Regions from separate parts of the Homo sapiens genome. Here region 1 is linked to region 2. Evidence: promoter capture Hi-C in human tissues and cell types (Jung and others, 2019). All regions are on one chromosome and are shown on one strand. The core of a region is centred on a gene start or on the middle of the fragment in contact, and the rest is flanking DNA. Distances in the headings are between cores, read along the strand shown.

Region 1 (5,614 bases), core at 2,696-5,195, 38 kb before region 2:
CGGTGGTTACTCACGGTCTAGGGCAGTGCCTCGTAGGTAAATATTTGTAGAAAAATAGAAGAGAGCTTCCCCTTATGGACCCGCAAGTGCTCTTTGGGCCCCATGGGCCTGGCAGAAAGCCTCACCTCACCGGCAATGGGTCCCTCCTAGGACTTTACCGTTGACAATGGTGCCTTCTGGAAGTCACCTCCATTTCCAAGCTGGCCCGGTGGGGCCCAGATAACGAAGCTGCTTTAACATAAATAATTTGCTTCTGAGGTGTAAGAAGTGGGGAATATTTTTAGAAGGCCTGCCCTCCTAGGGGAAGTAAATGACTTATGAAAACGGGATTTTTCAAAGTGGCCTTCAAGAGAAAAGGGAGCCGTGTGTGATGGCCAAAATGGAATTCTATGAATTAGTGCGACTCATTATTCTGGCCGTACGCACACAGAAACACGCACACACACACACACACACACACTCACTCACTTTTCCTCCTGCCTTCCATTTCATGGTCTTAGCTCGAATCTGAAATAAAACCCCGGCAGCCCTCCTCCCCTGGCCCTCAGCGGCGGCCTGTCTGATTGGATGCCTCCCACAGCCCTGAAGACCAGAGCTTCAAGGAGGAAGCCGCCAGGGACACGCTGAGTCCTCGCTTCTTAAAGTGCGCCCGTAAGTTACCTTGAAATGTTATTTTTTAAAAAAAAAGTATTTTAGGTTCAACAGACACTTGGGTTCCTGTTAACAACTCATTTAAGGAGAAAGTGGGGGGAAGGCATTCAGATCAAGGCTTCTTTGACAACGTGAACCTCCTTACTTTGAATCCTTACATTGTCGATGGGATGAAAGATTTCGTGGAGACGCAGATGGGTAAATGCGCAGGTGAGAAAGGACAGATGTTCGCTACAACGGAGACGCAGGGATCTTGGGATGAGCTTTGTCTGGCCAATAATGGAGAATAGATATTGGAGGGAGGGGGGAGTGGGAGACCCAGAAAACCAAGACACAAAAACCACTTTTGTGACCATTGTGTTTCCACTGGAGTCTTGATCTAGGGAAGATGTGCTGTTTGGAGAACTAACAAGATGACCGACTGCTTTGATGGGGCATGTTCTGAAAACCAAGGTCTACAGAAGTCATCCATGGCTGGCTCCCTGGGGCCTTTCTCCCCTTTTCTACAAAATCTGGCTGCCATGGAGGCACAGATATGTTTTCTGCCCATCACCCCCCAAAAGCCCCAGACAATCAGCTCAGACCGTCTTTTCTTGAAGGTTCATGGTTGCGTCCTGGTGCCCACAGGCTCAACTTTGAACTTCTCAGCCAGGAGCCAAGGGCTGCCATGAGCTAGCTCTACCTTGCCTTCTCTTCCCAGTCCTCACACCTCCCCAAGACCCTACTCCCACCGGACCAATCTTCTCCCTGATCCCATATTATTCTTTCCTCCTCCATGGAGGTCCCCTTATCCAAAGATTCTCCTGTCTACTTGTCTGAGGTCTGCTCATCCTGGACAACCTGACTCCCAGGAGCCTTCTGAGCCCATCTTCACTGAGCTCTTGTAAGTTCCAATTCTATGTTCCTTTGATCCATCTCATTGACTGTCTTTCTAGTCTACTCTCCCAAGAGGACTTTTTAACTCTTTCAAAACAAGGGTTCTGCCTGGTAGGTGCCAGCAGATGGCACAAGACCAACAGAGTGGGCACAATAAGAAAGTAATGGCCTCTTCCAAACAGCATGAAGTGGCCAGGCTGTGGACCAGAGGGTGCACATGATATGGTTCACCACCCTCTCTTGGAGATCTTCCATCCTTGAGGCTCAGGAGCAGAACTCAAGAGAAACTGCCACCATAGTGCTGTCACCCTCTGCTGACCACCCTGAAACCTGGAGGCCTGCTTATCCCCTGGGGCAAGACCCAAACTATCAGCCTCTCTATGTTGTCCCAACTCTTTTTTTTTTTCTAGAATAGTTCATTCATTCAATAAAATTGTTGAGTGGCCCACTCACTGTGTGCCAGGCACTGGGAATCTGGGGGTGAGTATCCTATACCCAGTCCATTGTCTTGGTACTTACAGACAATGAATTAAGAGCCACAGAAATGACTGATTACAGTCAGAATAAGTGCAACGACAGTTTAAGTGCAGGCTGCTCTGAATATTTCGATAGACCTAACAATTGCTTCTCAAGGTTGCTGTTTTACATCTGGTGGGTTTTGAGCAGGCTGCCCTACAGCAGTGGCAAAAGGAGCCATAAGCTGCCTTGATGGGACACTTAATGGGATGCTGAGCCTAGGGGGACTGATGGAAGAAGGTCAGTTCTCATGGTGGGTCTGAGGCGAGGCTGGTGCTCTGAGTGCTGGTGGAGAAGTATCTCCAGGCAGGGACTGTACCTGGAATTCTTAGGAATGTAGAGGAGGTCAGAGCAGGAGCCAGCTGTCTCCCCAACTTAGGCCATAGACAGAAATGTCTCAACATCCTCTGGTGCTAAGTGCCTTCTCCTCTTTAAAAGGAGGGCCTTCTTTTCAACAAGCTCCCATGTCCCATGGAAAGAGTCCTCCAAGCCTTGCTAGCATCACCCTATTGGGTACCAGTTACTCCCTCACTGGCTGTATTTTACTTCCTTGATTTTTCTATTAATGAAGCCAATGAGCTGTTTTGTATTATGACTTCTTCTCTAATGTTTATCTACTCTACATCATGGTGAATTCCAGGAGAATTAAAATTATGTCTAGTTCTTTTTGGATATCAAGGATCCTAGTGAGGGCATAAACCAGATAAACAAGTATCTGGCATGCATGCCACCACTTCTGAATCCAGTGACCATGGCAGACATTATTAATCAATCCTGATACTCATTTCTGCTGTGCCTTGATATGGTTTCAAAGTACCTCCTCAGAATACTCTTTTCTGGTTACCCTTTGGGGGAAGTCACTCCTCCTCTGATTTTTTTTTAATGACTTAAATCATTCTTTTCTTCACAGTGCTCTTTCACTTGCAATTACATATTTTTAAAGGCTTATTTAAGGACTGTTTCCCCAACTAAGCTGTAAACTTATGGAACCATGTCTGTCTTTGCTCATCATTGCAGTGGGGTGGTGAGCCCATCCCTTGTCCTGTGGGAAGAGCTCAGTGCATGTTTGCTGCAAGTTGACTGAATGCTTGAGTAAATGAGTGATTTAAAGAGGACCCAGGTTTATCATCAAAATGCCTGGCTTAATGCTGGCTCGGTAGCTTCCTAACTGTGCACTTGGACAGGTCCCTTCCCTTCTCTGGGCATCAGCTTCCCCATCAGTAAAATAAGGATAAAATCTTTCCTTTTGCAGAGTTGCAGTGGGCATCTGATGGTGGAAAATAAGTGAAAACATTTTGTAGCTCAGAGGCAAACGCTGCCAGTGGTGATTATTGGTGTGATTTCTCCCCTTTTCTCTGCTGCAGGGCTGGGAGCTGTTCAAGCAGAGGTTTCACTTTTCTGGAGCTTTTGAAGGCTCTGGGACACAGACTGCCCTCCTGAGCTTGGGGGCCAGGGGGAATTTTATCTTGGATTCGGGTTGGTTTGGGGGATGCTAGCAGGCTGGTGTTCAGTGCGGGGCCCAGAGGGTGCATGCCGGGAGTGGGCAGCTGCTCCTCCCCTCCTGCCTGGGTCCAGGGTGGCAGCCTCTCCACTGCTGGGGCCCTGTGGGGAGGGGGCCTGAGGTCCTGGGTACTGAGCCCTGCCCATGGGAGGCATGCACGTGACTCTGGCCTTGAACATTTAGGATGCAGCGTGGCATCACTGCCTGCATGGGTGAGGAGGGAGGGGCCACTGTGTGCTGCACTCCTTTGTTGTTTCTACAGCTGGGGCCAGGCAGCCCCTTCCCTTTGGGGATTTGAACCCCTGGAGCCCGTTTCCCTACAAGGTGGTCCTTCTCTGGCCAGTGAAGCCTGCCTAATGCACCCTGGGGAGGCTGATGCCTTAAGCAAAGTGGCTCGAGCCGGCCCTGCTGAAGCTGATCCCAGCTGGCCTGGAGCGGGTAGGAATTTGTGTGTGTGTTGTAGCAGGGGATTGGGGGAGCTCAGGAATGGCCAAGTGCAATGGCAGGACCCTGACTGGCTGTTACCAATCCCAGAAAGGGGCACGGAATGGTGGGGCTGGCCAAGACCCAGTGACTCCGGGAAACAGAGAGCTCCACTCCCCTGTCCCCTGACTCTCAGCTGGGGTGGGTGGCAGGGCCCAGCAGGAGTCAGGCCTTTCTCCCAGAAGGGCAGGGCCCATAACTTGTCCTCCTAGAGGGCCAGTTCACTGGGGAAGATGGGTCCTGGTTGCAGAGAAACCAGGCCCATTCTCCCTTGGCAGCCAGAGATCTTGAGTTGTGGGGGCAGGAAGCAGAGGAGGGCCTGGGAGTAGGTCCCCCACAGGCAGGTGGGGCTTGGGAAGCTTGAGAGTCTTTTTCTGCCCACTCTCCTGTGCTGTCCCCATTCAACCACTCAGCAAAGCTAGATTCCACCCACTTCCCATCTCCCGCCTTTGCCTGGGGTGCCCTCATCCCACCTTTTATTTCCCTACAAGGTCCAATGCAAATGTCACCACCTCTGCAAGTACCCCTGTGACTCCTCCAGAGAAGGTCAGTTGCTGCCCCTTCTTGGGTCCTACCCTCTTTTTTTCCCCCCATTACTAGGGTGTTCTTAGGTGAGTAATTATGAATTAACGAGGGCATTGTTTTCTTCTGTCTTCCTCTAGACTGTGAGCTCCAAAGACATCATCATTGTGGTCAGTATCTGTCATTCCTGCCTGCCTTGCCTCCAGGTCTGCTTCCTTCTGTAATGGCACCTGTGGTCTCCAGTCCTCACCATGGCCCCCAGTGATGCTTGGCTCCTGGTCTCCACACCCTTGTGTTGTTCCCTCCCACACTGACCAGGGCTGAGTTGTGTGACTAACAGGACATTACAGAAGTGAGGCAATGCAGCAGGGTGTGTGACTTCCCAGGGGACAGCAACAAGGGCCCTCTAGCTTCTGCCCTGTTCCCTTTTGGGCTGGTTGCTCAGGCGAAGCCAACCGCCATGTTGTCAGGACACTCAAGTAGCCCCATGAAGAGGCCCATGTGGAGAGGTGTTGAAACCTTCAGCCAACAGCCAGCACCAGCTGGCCAGCTGTGAGACTAAGCCACCTTGGAAACGGATCCTCCAGCCCAGCCAGTCCTTTGGATGACTGCAGCTCTGCTGACAGATTGACACCAACCTCATCACAGACCCAGCTACCCCACTGTGTTCCTGACCCACAGGAACCATGTGGGATGATACATATTTGTTATTGTTTGGGGAGAAATTATTAGCCAGCAAAAGAACCAATAAGTATCTCAGTTCTCCTCAGAAACTACCCTTCGTCCACTGTGTGTGGCCTTGGTAGAACTGGCACTTTAGGTGCTCCATCTTCCCTGGGCCAAGGGATGGGGGCCTTGACCCTAGAGAGGACAATGAGACCCTCTTTCTGGAATTTGTATCTTGAACCAGAGAGACTAGACCAGGAAATGATTGGACTGATTTCCAGAAGCTACTTGACATCACGCACACACACGTAGGAACACACACACACATATACGTATATACATATATACATATAAACACACACGTATGCACACCACATGCACATGCACCAATACATATAT
Region 2 (6,189 bases), core at 806-3,305:
TCCTGTGATGATATTAAATTGAGTTTGGAGAGACCCAGAAGTCAAGCTTCCCCTTCGCCCCCAAATCAAGGCAGTGGGTAGGCTATCTGTAAATCATTAGCACCTTAGAGTAAAATATGTTTGTCAGATGTGTCTGATGGAATTGGCACTCGAGATCTTTCTGACTATAAATGGTAAGTGGTATGGTTTGGATCTGCGTCTCTCCCCAAATCTCATGTCAAGTTGTAATCTCCAGTGTTGGAGGTGGGGCCTGGTGGGAGGTGATTAGATCATAGGGGCACTTTCTCATGGTTTAACACGATTCCCCTTGGTACTGTCATGAAGGCGAGAGTTCTCGTGAGATCCAGTCATTTAAAAGTGTGTGTGGCACCTCGTCCTCCCACTTCTTGCTCTTGCCATGTGAAGTGCCTGCTCCTCTTTTGCCTTCTGCCATGATTGTAAGCTTCCTGAGACCTCCCCAGAAGTGGAATCTCCTATGCTTCTTGTACAGCCATGAGCCAATTAAACATTTTTTTTTATTTTTTTTTTAAATAAATGACCCAGTCTCAGGTATTTCTTTGTAGCAGTATGAGAATGGACTAATACAGTAAGTAAGCACACAAACATAATGGAAGCTTTCCCCAAAGGCAGGTGCTGACCTGGATAAAGCAGAGGAGTCTATGCATTTGGGAATTGGAAAACCTCAGTTTGAGCCCTGGCTCTGCCCTTTATTACTTCTGTGACTTCAATAAAATGACTTATTTTCACTTTCCTTATCCTTCAACTAGGGGTAAAAATGGTGCCTCCCTGGTAGCCTGACTGGGAGCAATTGACCACATAACCCAGGTACAAATCTAAGCACAGGGCCTTGACCACAGTAAACATTAAAAGTTAGTGATGTGTTGAGCATTGTTATTAGTAATGGCATTTTTTACTCATTTTGCTCTAGGGTCAGGAGATTCAAGACCAGGTGGCATCTTCTGCAGAGGACACCACTTTCCAAAGACATGGCTTGGTTCTTCATAGATGATAGGTCTTGGGGGAGCTCTGGGAAAAACTAAGGCAAACTTGGTTGCTACATTTCTTGGAGAAAGAGGAAAGGGTGGGTTAGAACTAGCTCGATGTAGGGTAGAAAAGAGGAGGTATGTTAGCTGGAGTTGCAGTTGCAGTAATGGCAGTGAGGAATGAATGTTCTTTGATTCTGAAGGCATCACAAGGAGAGAAGAGCTGAGGGCAGTAGGAGGATCCCATCCTGCAATATGGAGACCCAGAAGCCACTGCCCCTTGGCCCTTCTAGAATTCTGACCAATACTAACATTTGCCCAGCTTGACTAAACTTTAGACAGGTTTCTTCCTGATGATAGGCCCTTGGCCTCCTTTTCCTTAGAGCATTTCCTCTAGAAAACTTGGATTTGTAAATTTTTTCTCTGCCCCTTTGAGATGTAAATCTCTCAGTCTCTTGCTAGTTTTACAATCCAGGAATGTTTTTCTCAAGGACCTGGGAGGACCCTTTGAAATGTAATCATCAAGAAAGATTGTACCTTGTCTCTCAGTCTCTGTGAGAGGATGGGAGCCTAACATTTATAAGTGCGAATTAGCAACACAGACAGCCTAATCATATTAACTAATTCCCCCACCCCCTTAATGTCCTTGGGTAGTTCTCACTAGCTTATCCCAGCACTTCAAAACCATCCCGCCTTTTGTTTCAGGAGAGTTAAGTTCAATCTCTCTCCCCTACTGCAACTACCTTGAGTAAAGTCTTCCTGCCATTTCTCTTGGATGGTACCCACCTCGGGAGCTTGTTTCTTCTTCCCCTGCCTCCGCTCCAGCCACTCCAGCACACAGGTGAGGTCAGACATGCGCCTATCTTCAGCAGTCTTCCACATGTATTTCCTCTTTGTGGGCATTAAATCCTTCAGGTCCATTTGTTGCTCTGACATTGTGGAGTCTTGCTAGTGGCTTGGGTGGGAGGTGGCTGGCACTGTCTCACTCTTTCGATCCCTTTGTCTGGACTTGATGGCCTGGTGACTTAGAAGGTAGGGTGTGGCCTCCAGATGTGAACATAAAGGGCAGAGTGAGCCAAGACCCTGGGATATTGGCCTTAAAAGGTGGAAGGCCTGGGCAGTGATTGTGAAGTCATTGCCCGTCTTGGTAGCTGGCCCTGAGGTCAGAGTGGAGGTGGGACATTGGCCACCTCCCACTGTTCTCCATGTGGCCACTACCCCTCTTCAGGCGCTATGTCTCCTCTGGACTCTGCCACAGCCTCCTTGCAGCCTCTCCACCTCTACCTCCACAGAGATCTTAATAAAATAAAGGTCTGTCCACGCATCTTCCTTTCTCAAAAACCTTCAATGGCTCCTTGTTGCCTATCTAAAAGAAATCTGAATTCTTTAGTTTGGCATCCTATCTTTCTGTAGTGTACTCTAATTAGAAGAAAGCTTTTTATAAGCCCAATTCGTCTATATTCATTTATTCATCCAACATGTGGTTATCAGGCACCTACTAAGTATTGGGAATGGTGCTGGGGATACAATGCAGGAAAAAAACATAGGCAAACCTCCTAAGACATATGGGCTAGTGGAAAAGACAGGGCAGATAATTACCGTATGAATTCATAATGACAAGTGAAGATGAGTGCTTTCAAAGAAAGGAATGTAGTTCTATGAAAGGCCATATCAATGGTACTAGACTTGGATGGGGTGGTGGGTAGGCCACCTTTGAGCTCTGAGCTAAAGGATAAATAGACTTCAACAGGGCTGTTATGGTCTGGACATTTCTGTCCCTCCAAAATTCATGTGCTGAAATCCTAACCCCCAAGGTGATGGCATTAAAAGGTGGGGTCTTGGGAGGTAATTAGGTCATGAGAGCAGTTCTCTCATGATTGGAATTGGTGCCCTTGCAGAAGAGACTAGAGAGAGCTCCACCATGTGAAGATGTAGTGAGAAGGTGTCACCAGGAAATGGGTTCAGCAGACAACGGAATCTGTCAGAGCCTTAATTTTGGATTTCCTAGGCTTCAAAAATGTGATAAATGAATGTTTGTTGTTTATAAGCTACCCACTTTGTGGTATTTTGTCATAGGCCCAAATGGATTAAGATAAGGGCTTTGGACCAGAGAAATATGCCTGTGCAAAGGCCCTGTGACAAGCGGGAGGCATGGCACTAACAACAGAAGGCAAGGGTGACTAGAGTACCAGAGGCAAAGAGGCAATGGTACAGAGGTGGCCAGAGGCCAGGCCATCCAGGAACTTGGTAGCCACAGGTTCTGCTCAGACTGGGAAGGGAAAGGGAGCAAAGGAAAACAATAAAGGAATTCAAAAAAAGGGGAGGGAGTGGCATGGTCAGGCTTCCCTTTTTTGCTCTAGTAAACTTCTATTGAAGGAAATTATATATACAAAAATGTGCCAGAATCACAAATGAAGACATCTATGTAACCAGTACCCCAGAATCTTCCATACAGCCCCTGGTAGTTATTACCACCCTCCAAGGGTAAACATCATCTTATCATCCAATTTCTTTTTTTTTTTTTTTGAGACAGAGTCTCGCTCTGTCACCCAGGCTAGAGTCGGCTTACTGCAACCTCCGTCCCCCAGGTTCAAGCGATTCTCCTGCCTCAGCCTCCTGAGTAGCTGGGATTACAGGCGCACTGTAATTTTTGTATTTTTAGTAGAGACGGGGTTTCACCATGTTGGCCAGGCTGGTCTTGAACTCCTGACCTCGTGATCCACCTGTCTCGGCCTCACAAAGTGCTGGGATTACAGGCGTGAGCCACCGTGTCCGGCCTTATTATCCAATATCAAACTTTTTCTTCCTGTTATTGAGTTAAATATAAACCAAATAATATGCATGTGATATTTTACATCTGGATTTATTAATTTTGCAATATATTTGTAAGATTTTAGAAATAATGAATTATTTTGTCTTTGTTTATATGGTAATGTCTTTATTTTACCTTCATTCTTGAAGAAAGATTTTCTGGATAATGGAACTCTTGGTTAACAGTTTTTTCATTTGATTGCTTTTTGCCCTCTATTGTTTTATATGGGAAGCCAGCTGTTAACTGCATTTTTGCCTCTTGTAGTAATAAGTCATTTTTCTCTTGCTTGTTTTTCTATTTCTTTCTGTCTTCTGACTGCTTGCCTATGATTTGTCTAGGTGTGGATCTCTACATATTTATCCTACTTGAGGTTTATTGAACATTTTGGATGTGTATTTAATTTTTTTTTAAGTCAAATTCTGAAAGTTTTTGGCCACTGGTTTTTCCATATGTTTTCTGCTCCTTCCTTTTTATTTTCTACTTCTGGTTTTCTCATTATACATCTGTTGGCTTGATGTTGTCCCACTGGCCCCTATGGTTCTGTTCCTTTTACTTCAAACATTTTTTTTCTCTGTCTTCCTCAGATAGATACTTTCTATCACTCTATCTTCGAGTTCATTGATCTCTTCCTCTGCCATATATAATCTGTTGTAATAGATCTTCACAGTAAAATTGTAATTTATGCTTTTCAACACCAGAATTTCCATTTCTTTCTTTATAATTTCTATCTCCTTATTTAGAATCTTTCTCTGTTGATTGTTTATTATCATAATTTTATTTACAAATTTAAACAGTTCTTTGAGCATATTTAGAGTAGCTATTTGAAATCTTTGCTAAATACAGAATCTAGGAAAACTCAGAGACAAGTTCTACTATCTGCTATTTTCCTCAGTATATGTCACACTTTCCTGTTTCTTTGCATATCTTGTAATTTTCTGTTGAAAACTGGGCATTGAAAATATTGCAATGGATATGTTAATTGATATGTCATGAATATGTTAATTATCTTGATGTAGCTGTTCCATAATGTATCATTATGTTGTACACCACTAATATATACAGTTTTATTTGCCAATTAAAAAAATTACAGCAACTTTGGATTCTGATTTCCCCCACTCCATGGTTTATTGTGAATCATGAAATTGCTATCTGGGAATCTTGTCTTCTCTGTTGTGTGAAGCTGCTGAAATTTCTGATGAAATTTCTTACATTCTTGCTTTTTAAAAATATTTAAGGCTAGCTTCCTAAGCATTATCTCTGTGTCTGCATATCTAATTGGACAGAGATTGTGCTGAACCACCTTAAACAAGTAAAGTCATCTGACATCTGCTGATGAATCTACATGTGAGTATGGGAGCTGTATCAGTTATCTTATTGCTGTTTAATGTTTAAGTTTGGTGGCTTAAAACAAGAGAAAGATTTTACAGTTTTTGTGGGTCGGGAATCTGGGTGTGCATTAGCTGGGTTCTCTGGCCCAGGCAACAATCAAGGTGGTGGCCAGGTTGCAGTCATCTGAAGGTTTGACAGGGGAAGGATCTGCCTCCACACCCCTCATGTGATTGATGGCAGGATTGGGTTCCTTGCAGGCCATTGAACAGAGAACATCCCTTCTTTGTCACATGTTACACCCTTTGTTCCTTGTAACATGTGCCTCTTCATAGGATAGCTCATGACATGCAGCTTGCTTCATCAGCACAGGAAGGGGGAAGAACCAGAGAGAGAGTGAGAGCAAGGCAGAAGTCAGTCTAACCTTGGAAATGACATCCACCATTTTTGCCATATTAGCATGTGATTTTTTGGAAGCAAGTCACTATGTCAGCTTCACCCAACATGAGGGGATTACACAGGGTGCTAATACCGAGGACAGCATTTATAGGAGCCATTTTAGAAGCAGCCTACCATAGGAACACATTCAAACTTCAGTTCATTTTCATGCTTTCTCTATTTTTTGCTTTCTACTGGGCTCTTTCTCATCTCCTCTGCATATCTGTGCAGCCTCAGAGTTGGCCAGCAGAGTCTGGCTAGACTGGGCCCTTTCTGGTTTCTGCTATGCAACTATGCAGCTTTAGCCAGAAACATTTACCCCAGTCATGACTGCAACCTCAGTCTAAAGGACCTTTTGGCCCTCCTGCTTTTCTGCCTTGGCAACTTTTACTTAAACCAACATGGCTGCCAAGAGTGGATGTTGGCCAGTGCTCTAAGTCAAATAAGCTCCCTTTAACTGCAGCAGAGAAACTGCCTCGCCTCCCAGTGTGCCCCACCCTGGAGGAGCCTCCCTACTGACTTAGCTAGCAGCCGGAGATGGGAGCAGCCTTAGGCTAGAATGCCACAGATTCTCACTGTTGTTACCCAGATTTCTGCAGTTCTCAAGCATAAATGTTGCTCCAACTGTTG

Evidence for each region. Contacts are between HindIII fragments. The study calls those that stand out against the background at their distance.
Region 1: a contact is called between a fragment that was not itself captured here and the fragment with the promoter of C16orf78 in region 2, in 1 of the 25 tissues and cell types used here (pancreas).

What each region holds. Positions count from the first base shown.
Region 1 is chr16:49,409,776-49,415,389 of GRCh38, reverse strand. It overlaps LOC105371244 (a long non-coding RNA gene), which reads left to right. Exons shown (of 8, transcript XR_001752167.2): 3 at 501-651; 4 at 3,807-3,982; 5 at 4,519-4,573; 6 at 4,690-4,719. Among named protein-coding and RNA genes, the nearest start is that of C16orf78, 39 kb to the right of the region's middle. The HindIII fragment of the contact is 7,810 bases long and covers 41-5,614 here.
Region 2 is chr16:49,369,670-49,375,858 of GRCh38, reverse strand. It overlaps C16orf78 (chromosome 16 open reading frame 78), which reads right to left and starts at 2,055. Exons shown (of 5, transcript NM_144602.4): 1 at 1,770-2,055. The coding sequence starts at 1,919. It overlaps LOC105371244 (a long non-coding RNA gene), which reads left to right. Exons shown (of 8, transcript XR_001752167.2): 8 at 929-3,535. RefSeq lists enhancers at 1,141-1,871, 1,872-2,602, 5,829-6,189. The HindIII fragment of the contact is 5,141 bases long and covers 245-5,385 here.